Linked DNA regions of Homo sapiens: all the other regions are linked to region 3. The links are contacts of gene promoters, found by promoter capture Hi-C in blood cells and fetal thymus (Javierre and others, 2016). All regions are on one chromosome and are shown on one strand. The core of a region is centred on a gene start or on the middle of the fragment in contact, and the rest is flanking DNA. Distances in the headings are between cores, read along the strand shown. Region 1 overlaps MLLT10 (MLLT10 histone lysine methyltransferase DOT1L cofactor). Region 2 overlaps MLLT10 (MLLT10 histone lysine methyltransferase DOT1L cofactor). Region 3 holds the start of MLLT10 (MLLT10 histone lysine methyltransferase DOT1L cofactor). Region 4 overlaps MLLT10 (MLLT10 histone lysine methyltransferase DOT1L cofactor).

The links. The method cuts DNA at HindIII sites, captures the fragments that hold promoters and counts their contacts. A CHiCAGO score of 5 or more calls a contact.
Region 1: a fragment that was not itself captured here is called in contact with the fragment with the promoter of MLLT10 in region 3 in 1 of 17 cell types (megakaryocytes); the score reaches 5.9 in megakaryocytes.
Region 2: a fragment that was not itself captured here is called in contact with the fragment with the promoter of MLLT10 in region 3 in 2 of 17 cell types (megakaryocytes and erythroblasts); the score reaches 5.4 in megakaryocytes.
Region 4: a contact is called between a fragment that was not itself captured here and the fragment with the promoter of MLLT10 in region 3, in 4 of 17 cell types (megakaryocytes, fetal thymus, endothelial precursors and 1 more). The highest score is 9.3, in megakaryocytes.

Annotation. Positions count from the first base shown.
Region 1 is chr10:21,676,447-21,679,162 of GRCh38, reverse strand. The region is part of intron 11 of MLLT10 (MLLT10 histone lysine methyltransferase DOT1L cofactor); the gene reads right to left. Among named protein-coding and RNA genes, the nearest start is that of MLLT10, 140 kb to the right of the region's middle. The HindIII fragment of the contact is 759 bases long and covers 1,070-1,828 here.
Region 2 is chr10:21,716,989-21,719,902 of GRCh38, reverse strand. The region is part of intron 14 of MLLT10 (MLLT10 histone lysine methyltransferase DOT1L cofactor); the gene reads right to left. Among named protein-coding and RNA genes, the nearest start is that of MLLT10, 180 kb to the right of the region's middle. The HindIII fragment of the contact is 5,162 bases long and covers 1-2,914 here.
Region 3 is chr10:21,532,807-21,535,641 of GRCh38, reverse strand. MLLT10 (MLLT10 histone lysine methyltransferase DOT1L cofactor) reads right to left here and starts at 1,410. Exons shown (of 23, transcript NM_001195626.3): 1 at 1,122-1,410; 2 at 838-997. The coding sequence starts at 997. RefSeq lists enhancers at 1-412, 1,128-1,841 and silencers at 473-562, 703-1,042, 1,153-1,222, 1,233-1,762. The HindIII fragment of the contact is 10,036 bases long and covers 1-2,835 here.
Region 4 is chr10:21,733,708-21,736,407 of GRCh38, reverse strand. It overlaps MLLT10 (MLLT10 histone lysine methyltransferase DOT1L cofactor), which reads right to left. Exons shown (of 23, transcript NM_001195626.3): 20 at 2,279-2,640; 21 at 1,173-1,269. The region is part of intron 1 of LOC107984214 (a long non-coding RNA gene); the gene reads left to right. Among named protein-coding and RNA genes, the nearest start is that of MLLT10, 200 kb to the right of the region's middle. The HindIII fragment of the contact is 3,312 bases long and covers 1-2,700 here.

The DNA.
Region 1 (2,716 bases), core at 200-2,699, 140 kb before region 3:
AAACAGGCCATTTATCAGGACACACTTCAATCCATAATACAAATTTTAGAATCTGAACTCTGAATCAAACATTTTATAGGTGTTTTCTAGGCTTCTACTCTAATTTGATCTACAGTTCCCAGAAAAAATGTACTCTGCTACAATTTGAACATGTCATGAGAGAATTTTGATTACTATTAAAACTGATGCTTTTAGCCAATAATTTCAAGAGGGAATCACATTAGAACCTGACTCTACTCCTGCTTTACATCCTAGTTGTAAAGGAGAAATAACAACATCAAGAGGAGCTGTCCTATTTCACAAGGCTGTTCCAAGGATCAAATGAGAGAGTAACTAAAGAGTTCCTAAGAAACTTAAACGTACTCAAATAAGAGATTATATTAGCATTGCCAAGCTGAATGAGATAGCATTTTTTTTCTTTTCCATTAATGAAATTCTTTCATAATGGTAACTAGCCAGAATAGTTATTTTAAGAAAAAGATCATTAGCCTATCAGTTTGATTTCTTCAGTCTGGCATTAATCTCTCAATGAACCCATCCTACCCTATAAACATCACCTTCACAGTGCCACAAATACAAGCTTCCTGTTCTTATTAGGCTTTTCCCTCAAACAGACCTTTACTTTCTTTTCAGGTAATATTGGCCTTCGTCTTCTGCCTACTTCAAAGTACAATTCAACCTCTCCATGATCTTTTCCAACTTAATAATACTTTTCATCATAAACTGGCAAAATAAATACTACATGAAAAGCTTTAAAAATAGCTGGGCCCAGTGGCTCACACCTGTAATCCCAGCATTTTGCGAGGCTGAGGCAGGTGGATCATGAGGTCAAGAGATGGAGACTGTCCTGGCCAACATGGTGAAACCCTGTCTCTATTAAAAATACAAAAATTAGCTGAGTGTGGTGGCGCGCACCTGTAGTCCCAGCTACTAGGGAGGCTGAGGCAGGGGAACTGCTTTAACTCGGGAGGCAGAGGTGGCAGTGAGCTGAGATCAGGCCACTACACTCTAGCCTGGTCAATAGAGCAAGACTCCAGCTCAAAAAAGAAAAGAAAAGAAAAGAAAAGCTTTACAAATAAAGTAATATGTCTTACAGCTTAGCTATAAACACTCAGAGGGGAAGTACAAAATCATACAGCATACTTCTAACCACATGACATACACTCACGAGACAACTAATGGTATTCATTCATTTCTTAAAATAATGTTTAACGTTTACTATGTCCAAAGCACTGTGCTGGCAGTGGGGATACAGTGGTGTATGTCAGAAACAGCCCCTAGCCTCAGGAGTTAGTATTATAGTGAATGTTATAGTTTAAACAACAGGTGCTTACAAAGGTCATCTTCGACATTACTAAATTATCGACCTGTCATTCAAGAAAGTCAATCTTTTAAAAACAGCATCATGAAAAACAACTTGTGATGATGTAATACATAATACAGTTGTCTTCTGTGTCTGTGGGATTCCACATCTGGGGATTCAACACCCTTGTATAGAAAATATTTGGAGGAAAAAATTGAGTCTGTACTGAATGTGTACAGACTTTTTTTCCTGTCATGATTCCCTAAGCAATATAGTATAACAACTATTTGCATAGCATTTACATGATACTAGGTATTATAAGAAATCTAGAAAAGAATGATTTAAGTACACAGGAAGATGTGCATAGGTTATATGAAAATACTATGACGTTTTATAACAGGAACTTGAGCATCTTGGACTTGGGTATTTATTTGCAGGAGGTCCTGGAACCAAGTCCCCATGGATGCCAAAGGATGACTGTATACATTTTCTCCTTCCTACTTATTTATTATATGGGGGGAAGCTTCTTGTTGTCACAATTACTAAATGATTTCTCAATTTCAAATTAGTCCAAAGGAAAAATTAACTTTTCATACCAATAAGAAACACTATTGCTGAAAGTTAAATTATTGGTTCAAATTTGTTCAGGGATCTCTTTGCTTAAAGTATGACTGACATTACACTAGTGTGGTGTTAGACCCTCATCAGCAAACATCTGTTGAGCTGTCTAATTAAATGGCTCTGGACCCAGGGAAAATGCATATCTCCATCACTTAAAACCTAAGAGAATTCTGTCTCAGTTTCTTGTCCTATATAATGAGTAATAACACTTAATGCTTATTAACTGCTTAACACAGTGTGTGGCACATACTAAGTGTTCATCAGCAGTTAGCAATTCTTAACTTACTATGATTAAAGCAGCACATGAAGCCAAGCCTCTTCTAGATAAGGATACGCTTTTTACTATTGTCAATAAATGTTCTGCACTAAGTCCTAAAATGTTTATTAACATACATAAAACTAAAGAATATATCTCAAAGAGTTTTCAATAATCTTATTCCATGATTATAGCTTTAACAAGACATAAAATATCTTCAGAGTAATTTTTTTTTTTTTTTTTTTTTTTTTTTTTTTTTTTTGAGATGGAGTCTCGCTCTGTCTCCCAGGCTGGAGTGCAGTGGCCCGATCTCGGCTCACTGCAACCTCTGCCTCCCGGGTTTAAGCGATTCTCCTGCCTCAGCCTCCCTAGTAGCTGGGACTACAGGTGCGTGCCACCACGTCTAGCTAATTTTTCTATTTTTAGTAGAGACCGGGTTTCACCATGTTGGCCAGGACGGTCTAGATCTCTTGACCTCAGGTGACCTGCCCACCTCGGCCTCCCAAAGTACTGGGATTACAGGCGTAAGTCACCAT
Region 2 (2,914 bases), core at 106-2,605, 180 kb before region 3:
AGTTTTAACAGAAATTGTTAATACTATTTCCAATACAGGAAGTGTTCCTGTACAATTTCTCACTGGTAATTAGGCTGAAGAGTAACAGTTGAAGTCAATAACCATGAATTCTAAAGTATTTTATGGTCTGCATTTGAACCTCATAAAGTATCTGTATAGCAGGTAGAACAGGTACTTAAAGTATTCCCATTTTACATATGGAAACATTGAGGCTCACAAAAATTAAAAGACCTGCCCAAGGTTATACAAGTGAGTAGCAAAACTCCTGGAACCCAGGACTTTTGCTGACTCAAATTTCTCTCTTCTGCATTGCATCACACAAATGAACACAGTAAAATTACTAACAACGTTTTCCAAGGAGATACCTCTTAGCATAAGAAGTACATAATTGGGAAATTCATTTTAACAGTAACAATTAGTAATAAGAGAGCAGGCTAAGGAATCATGTCTTAATTCCAGACTTACAGATATGTGACTGTGACTGAACCTTTTCATCATCTGGTAACAAGAGATGTTACCAAGGTTATGAAAACTGATTTTCCTCAGAAAGGTAATTCCCTTAAAATTATAAGTCATTATATTATTGAAATCAGAAGAAATTTACATTCTGACTAATTAAGTATAAACATAAATATCACCCCAGAAGTCAGTTAAATCTGCCTGAGAAACGAAACCATTTTCTCAAGCAGAATTAAAGTGTCCTTATTAGACATCATCTGAAAAGAAATCGGAGACTACATCTTAGACAACTTCCCCTACATAAACACACACATACATAATCATATTGGAAAACAAAATATTCGAAGCTAATTGAGATGAAAGTGTCACAGAAATCTGCAAAACTCTAGTCACTAAATTGTATGTTTAAAATACAGAAATATGCCCAGGCGAGGTGGCTCACGCCTGCAATCCCAGCACTTTGGGAGGCCAAGGTGGGTGGATCATGAGGTCAGGAGTTCGAGACCAGCCTGGCCAACATGGTGAAACCCCATCTCTACCAAAAACACAAAAATTAGCCAGGCGTGGTGGTGCACGTGTGTAGTCCCAGGTACTCAGGAGGCTGAGGCAGGAGAATCACTTGAACCTGGCAGGGGCAGAGTTTGCAGTGAGCCGAGATCGTGCCATTGCACTCTAGCCTCGGCAACAGAGTGAGACTCCGTCTCAAAAAAACAAACAAACAAACAACAACAAAAACACGAAATATCTGCATTTCCTAAATATCACATAAATAAACCTTGGAAGTTTATTTTACTTTAAATGTTAAGTCTACATCATTTTGTTTAACAGTAACATGGGATAGACAAGAAGCCATGATTATCACATGAAGATTGTATTTCAAACGCAAAACTCAGAAAGTAGGATGTAACGGAATGCAATTATGTTTCATTGCATTCAGTCTTAAGTTCTTCTACTAAAGAAATCATCCTTCAAACCAAAAAAAAAGCACCTGCATTCTCCCAAAGACAGTACAGAATGACTGCAGAACTAGGAAACAGCAGGATTTGAAAGGCAAAATGAAAAATTAATGACACTCCTACAGAAACTAATTTATACCTCTACCCTGATCCATGATTAACAGTCACATGGACAGGAGTCCGCTCTTCCCGCAATGTTAAGAAACTACTCTATTACTAATATACTAGTATGTAGTAAAGCAGGCTTCCTATCAATTATTTGTGAAAGAGCCATTACTCTAAAAACTAGTCTGTTGAAAGGGGGAAAAAAAAAAGGGTTTAACACTTAAGAATATAAAATAGAGGCCGGGCGCAGTGGCCCACACCTGTAATCCCAGCACTTTGGGAGGCCAAGGTGGGCAGATCACCTGAAGTCTGGAGTTCGAGACCAGCCTGACCAACATGGTGAAACTCCATCTCTATCAAAAATACAAAAATTAGCCAGGCGTGGTGGCGGGCACCTGTAGTCTCAAAAAGAAGAAAGAAGAAGAAAGAAGAAGAAAGAAGAAAAGAAGGAGAAGAAGAAGGAGAAGGAGAAGGAGGAGGAGGAGGAGGAGGAGAAGGAGGAGGAGAAGGAGGAGGAGAAGGAGGAGGAGAAGGAGGAGGAGAAGGAGGAGGAGAAGGAGGAGAAGAAGGAGAAGAAGAAGGAGAAGAAGAAGAAGAAGAAGCAGCAGCAGCAGCGGAGGAGGAGGAGGAGGAAGAGGAGGAGGAAGAGGAGGAGGAGGAGGAGGAAGAGGAGGAGGAGGAAGAGGAGGAGGAGGAGGAGGAGGAAGAGGAGGAGGAAGAGGAGGAGGAAGAGGAGGAGGAAAAGGAGGAGGAGGAGGAGGAAGAGGAGGAAGAAGAGGAAGAAAGAAGAGGAAGAGGAAGAAAGAAGAGGAAGAGGAAGAAAGAAGAAGAAAGAAGAAGGGAGGAGGAGGAGGAGGAGGAGGTGGTGGAGGAGGAGGAGGAGGAGGAGGAGGAGGAGGAATATAAGAATATAAAATCAAACAGTTTTTTAAAGGTTTTTTCCCCAAAATGTATGCTGCTATCAGACTCCCCTCCCCACCCCCCACCCGCCAATTTTACAAGTATCTCCTTTTCCCAGCACAAATCAAGTTTCAAGTTATTCTAAGTTTTTAACTTCTACTAGCCCTTCCCAATCTTATCTCCTTGACCACTTTCCAGGGAACAATTTTTTTTTTTTTTTTTTTTTTTTGAGACGGAGTTTCGCTCTTGTTGCCCAGGCTGGAGCGCAATGGCGTGATCTTGGCTCACCGCAACCTCTGCCTCCCAGGTTCAAGCAATTCTCCTGCCTCAGCCTCCCGAGTAGCTGGGATTACAGGCATGCACCACCGCGCCCGGCTAATTTTGTATTTTTAGTAGAGATGGGGTTTCTCCATGTTGAGGCTGGTCTCGAACTCCTAACCTCAGGTGATCCACCCGCCTCGGCCTCCCAAAGTGCTGGGATTACAGGTGTGAGC
Region 3 (2,835 bases), core at 161-2,660:
GCCACTTCAAAGGCCAGAAAAGTATCTTACTAGTGTCCTCGGCCTTCTTGTATATCCAAAAACCTCATCAATTGTTAACAACCAGAAATAAACTAAGAGGCTCCCCAAAAGTGACTTGGCACCGCCACCTCTTCAGCCACCTAGGCTGGTGGTGGCCTGCCGCGGCCACCCCACAGGCGCTGCAGCAGCCCCGCCACTCCCGCATGGTCAGCAACGGACTCCGCCATCTCCTCCGCAGACAGCTACCGGGCGGCGGCGGCAGGGCCCGAGCCTTCTGGCTCGGGGTGCAACGGGCCCCGCATCCCTCCCCATCTAAAGAGGCAAGGCGACCCCCAGCCTCCCCACACTGGCGCCGCGTTCCCGAGCCCGTCTCCACGCCACAGGAAGTCTCCAAACACTGCGGCAGACAGGCGGCTGCAGGCCAGGGGAGAAGAGGGCGCTCCACTCTCCCAAACCCACCCCCGTGGCCCCGGGAACCCCGGGAAGGGCGCGCACCGCCCCCGCCCCCGCCCCCGCCCCCACCCCGGCCCAGATCTCGAGGGCGCGGCCGCCGCCCTGCCCCGCCCCGCCCCGCCGAGTCAGCAGACCCCGGCCCCAGGCGCAGGCGGCGGCCGAATGACACTTGAGAGAGTGAGAGCGGAATCACATGACAGTCCGGGCCACACGCACTTTCTCCCACATGCGCGGCCCACACCCCCCGCGCCCCGCCGCGGACCCTCCGCGTCCCTCCCGCGGCCGCGGCACGGGGCGGGGGCGCCGGCGGTTGCGGCCCAGGTGGGGGCGGCGGTGACCGTTGGGCGCAGGCCGGCGCGCCCCGGCGGGCGGTTGGGTGTTTACCTTGATGCACCGCGACGCTGCAGCCGTGCCCGTCGCAATAAACCAGCGGGTTCTCGGCCCAGCCTCTCTCGTCTGAGCAAACGCAACAGCCTCCAATCATCTCCTTCATACTATGGGAGACCTCGTCCTCCAGTGACACGGGCCGGTCGCTAGAGACCATCTAAGAGGGAGTTGGGGGGACCATTAAAAAACACATGCAAGCCGATTAGTGCTTCCCCCCCACACAGCCCCCCGAGCCCGCCCCGGCGCCCCCCGCCCGGCCCGGCAGCCCACCGCTCGCTCACTCGGGCTTTGCCGCTCAGTCACTCACGTTCCGCACAGGAGTCAGGAGCCATGTCCTTGCTGATTCCCCCCACCTCCCCTCCACCGCCTCCTCCGCCTCCTCCTCCTCCTCAGCGTCTTCCCTCCCCACCTCCACCCGGCCGCTAACGCGGGCGCCCGGAGAGGGCACACATAATCAAGAGGGCCTCCGCACAGGCGCACTGGGGGGAGGGGGGGCTCCCGCTGGGCCAGGGGCAGCGAGGGAGGGGAAGGGGGCTGCGCTTCCTCCTCGGAGCGTCACTTGGCGTGCGCGCCCGTCCTGCGGCCGGCGTGAGGGAGGAGGCCTGGGCGAGGCTAGCCCTGCGTGCGCGCTGCCGCGGCCTGTTGGCTGCCCCCGGCCTACCTCCGGGGCCCCGTCCCCCTCCCCCGCGCCGCTCGCCGCCGCCGAGGTGTGCTGGGGGTGGGCGCGAGGGGAGCCGGCGGCGCGCGGAGGCCGGAATGAACGGGCGCGGGGGCGCGCACGCGGGGGCGGGGACGTTAGGGCCGCCCTCTGCAGCGCTGGTGGCGCGGGCCGCGTGTGAGCGTCGGGAAGAGGCCTGGGAGGTGGCGGGGGAGGTGGACGCCCAGGGCTGGGAAGGGGTTTTCTCAGAATCGCCAGAGGGGAGTCCCCGGGGGCATCATCTCCGTGCCCTGGGAACCTACCTGCTGGCCTTTTCCTCCAAGACTGGCCCGTGGAAAACGAGGGTGGGGCGAGTGTGCCAGCTTCCATGAAGGGTGTAATGAAGCATGGCTTCCTGCAGTTGGCCGCGCTAACTTCACAGTGCTGCCGCAGCCACTCCACCCATTAAATTCACGTCCTGGACTCTTCCCAAAGTTCACCCGCTGGAAGTCCTACCAAATCTGCCGCCCATTTTCGCACTACGTGGGCCCCAATGACAAACGAAAGTGTATTCCAGGCTGAAGGTCAAAAGCCTGTGTTAGGGCTGCACTCGGAGAGGGAACGCCAAGGCGCCCCTCAGCTCGGTGTGCAGGACAAATGGTGGTTTATCCGGAATTAGCAATATAATACGATGATCCGGAAAATGCAGTTGTATTACACCAAAAGGAAGAAGGAACTCTAGCCCTCCTAGTCAGTCGCTAAAACATAATTAACGCCATCAGACAGTGGCGTCCAGTTTTGATGGAGGATTCCTCTGATCCGGGTCTTTTCTCCAAATTTATACTTGGAAATGTGAGGTCATTTAAAAGTGGCAGAAAGATGAGAGCTCCCACCTCACAAACAAATGGAAAATGGATTAGGCCTATCTGCATAGATTAATTAGCTGGATGCTGAGCACTTTTAAACTAAAATCTTCCACTGTCTGCCTATTCCTTATGCATCCGTAAAGCCCAATATTGATGTTTAAGCAAAAAATGTCTAATTAGAAAAGTTTCGCATGAAATCAGAATTATGCATAGATTGTTTAAATGACAAGCCCAGTTAAAAGGCGAATTCATGACTTTTGATTAATACCTTGCAGGTACAAAATGGTTCTTTATCAGCAATTCGCATTATAAATGTGCTGATCTGGAAGATGCACTTTCACAGTGCTAAAGCATAGAGAACCCAAGTTCTCCTAGTCGGTCGCCAAAAGATAATATAATGGTTTGGGCTTTAAAAGCCTTCTAAATGTTCTTCTGATAAAGGGGGGTTAGAAAAGGTATCATGGCTGTTTTTCTATTTCAAATTAATTGCTA
Region 4 (2,700 bases), core at 81-2,580, 200 kb before region 3:
GAGGCTGAGGCAGGAGGATCACTTGAGCCCAGGAGATGGAGGTTGCAAGGAGCCCAGATTGTGCCACTGCACTCCAGCCTGGGCGACAGAGCAAAACTCCCTCTCAAAAATATACATATATATACCACAATTCCAGGCAGTTTTCAATACGTAGCCCATACTATTTTAACACCTACGTCTCCTGCCTGGATCACTCCCTTTTTCCACTTTTGCCTCTGTCTTCACTCCCCCACACCCTATAACACACACAGACTATTCTCCATATAGCAGCAAAACTAATCCTTTAAAATGTAAATCATTATTTCACTATTCTGTTCAAAACCTTCCAATTCTTAATCCTGAAAAAAATGGAGAATGAAATGAGATAAACAAAACTAAGATTATTAGCACTGGGTGAGAGAATGGAATGAGGCGTACATAGGTCTTCAGGGTGCTCTCCACTCTACTTTTGGTACACTTGAAATCCTCCGTAATAGATTTTTAAAAACTCGCCAGTGGCTTTCCATTCATACTTAAGATAAAATCCAAATTTCTTGCCACAGCCAAGAAAGGCTGTATGCGATCATCTAAGACCACCCCCTTGGCTCTGACCTCTCCCACCCTCTGACCACATGGCTGCTGACTTCTCTTCCGAACACAAGTACGTCCAGACCTTTGACAGCAGCTGCCCCTTTACCTCCAACGTGCTTTCTCTCTGCGTTCCCTCAAGTCACAAAGGCACACTCCCTGAACTCTCACATCGGTCTGTGCTCAAAAGTCACCCCCCTTGCAGAGGCGGGGCCATCCTATCTAAAATGGTCCTCGGTTCCCTATGCTCTTCCCCACTTATTCCACTTCTTTGTTCTTCTCAGTATTTATCACAACCAAAAAGCGTGCATCGTGTCCATCCATCTCCCGTATCAAAATGAAGCTCCGGGAAAACACGCACCACATCTCAGCACTGTGTTACCAGAGCCTATGGCAGCACCATGCCACGTGCCCTGTCACTTTTAAGTTCAGGAATGAATGTGACATCACTGCAGGTATCACAGCCTGTACCACATGGCAAGAAAAACTTTTTTGATTATGCATTCAATAATGTTATTTCACAAAGGAGAAATCTGTACCCACAGTGAATATTACAGCTTAGAACACATGCTCCTAATAAGATATTATCAAAAGAAAGAACTTACTGGTGTGAGCTGTTGAGAATTTAACAACTGCTGAAACTGCTGTTGATGAATAAGTATTTGTCGTTGCTGGTCAGAAAGTAATCCTAGTCCTGAGGCACTGAAAAATGATTACAATTCTTACTTTTTACTACACACCTCTAATGCATTTTTAGAAGTCTAAAAATGAAAGACAACTTTTCAATTTGATGTTTAATAACTTAAGTACAATTCTGAATCCAAACACTCTGAAAACAGTTATGTACAATTTCTATATATATGTATGTTTATATACATCCATGTGTACAGCTAAACAAGAATTCACATTGTCAAGAAATGTTTTTATTATAAAACAAATAGGCCCTAACTCATTTTATGGAATAGAAATTTACATGTGTTTCTAACAAGCGTATGTAATAATTTATCTTTAATTATTCAAGGATAATTTAACTCACACTAAGTAAACACATATTTGAAACAAAGAATCCAAACATACCACTGATTTGACCTATCCTTTTCTAATGGTCCCAATGGTAAAACTAAACACCAAGGAAGAGAGCTACAGGAAATAGCTTTCTAGTACCCACTGCAAATCCATTTAAAAGTATTTATTCCCCCAAAAGTATGCTTAATAACAACATAGCTTTAGTCCCCTAGTTTTGAACAAACATTCAAATGCAGTTCCAGTACAATGAAACCAGTGAGTCTCACTTCCTGGGAATTCAGATAAATGACCTTTATCCTATATCAAAATCTTTGATTAGAACATTAAAAATATTACATAAATTTTAGGAAACTAATATTCATGTTATCTCCACTACGATATCTTTCTTCAGAATTTATGATACAGTATACAAAGAAATAAGAAAAACTAGTATTTAAAAACAGACATCACAGATTAAGACTAATTTTCAGCACAGAACATAATGCTGTTACTAAAAGTAACTTAATTTTAATCTAAATTACTTAAGTTTCAAAAATAAATGTACTCTGTATAATATACTTAAAATTTTTGGCAGACTTCTTAAGGTGTATCTACAAAGGAACACATTGAAAGCCCCAATCTAAGGCATAGACAACACCGGTACTCTGTTATACTAAAAAACCCAAAACATACTTAAGTTTCTTACCTGTTAGTCAGTGTAGCTGGCATTGGATGTGTTGCATTAGGTGGTACGGTTGTGTGGGTGAGAGGGGTAGGGTTCTGGGACATTGTGACAGGAGTCTGCATAACCCCATTTAAAGCTCCTACAATGCCATTAATTGCCAGTTGGTTACCTGGCAAAGCTCCAATTATTCCACCCACTGCAGACACGGCAGGAATGGTGGAAGTTACAGGCTGCATTCCACTAGCTAGTGCCCCCACTGTCACGCCATTGACCTGCTGAACTCCACTCACTCCTGAGCCTTGTTGAGCCGGACTCTGCCCAGCAGGAGGTGGGGTAGAAAGAGCTGATGAGCTGCTGGTACTTTGTCCACTGGAGGTTAAGTCCTAGCGTAAGAAAGAAGAGAAACTAAGTCCACTGGACATTAAGTCCCAGCGTAAGAAAGA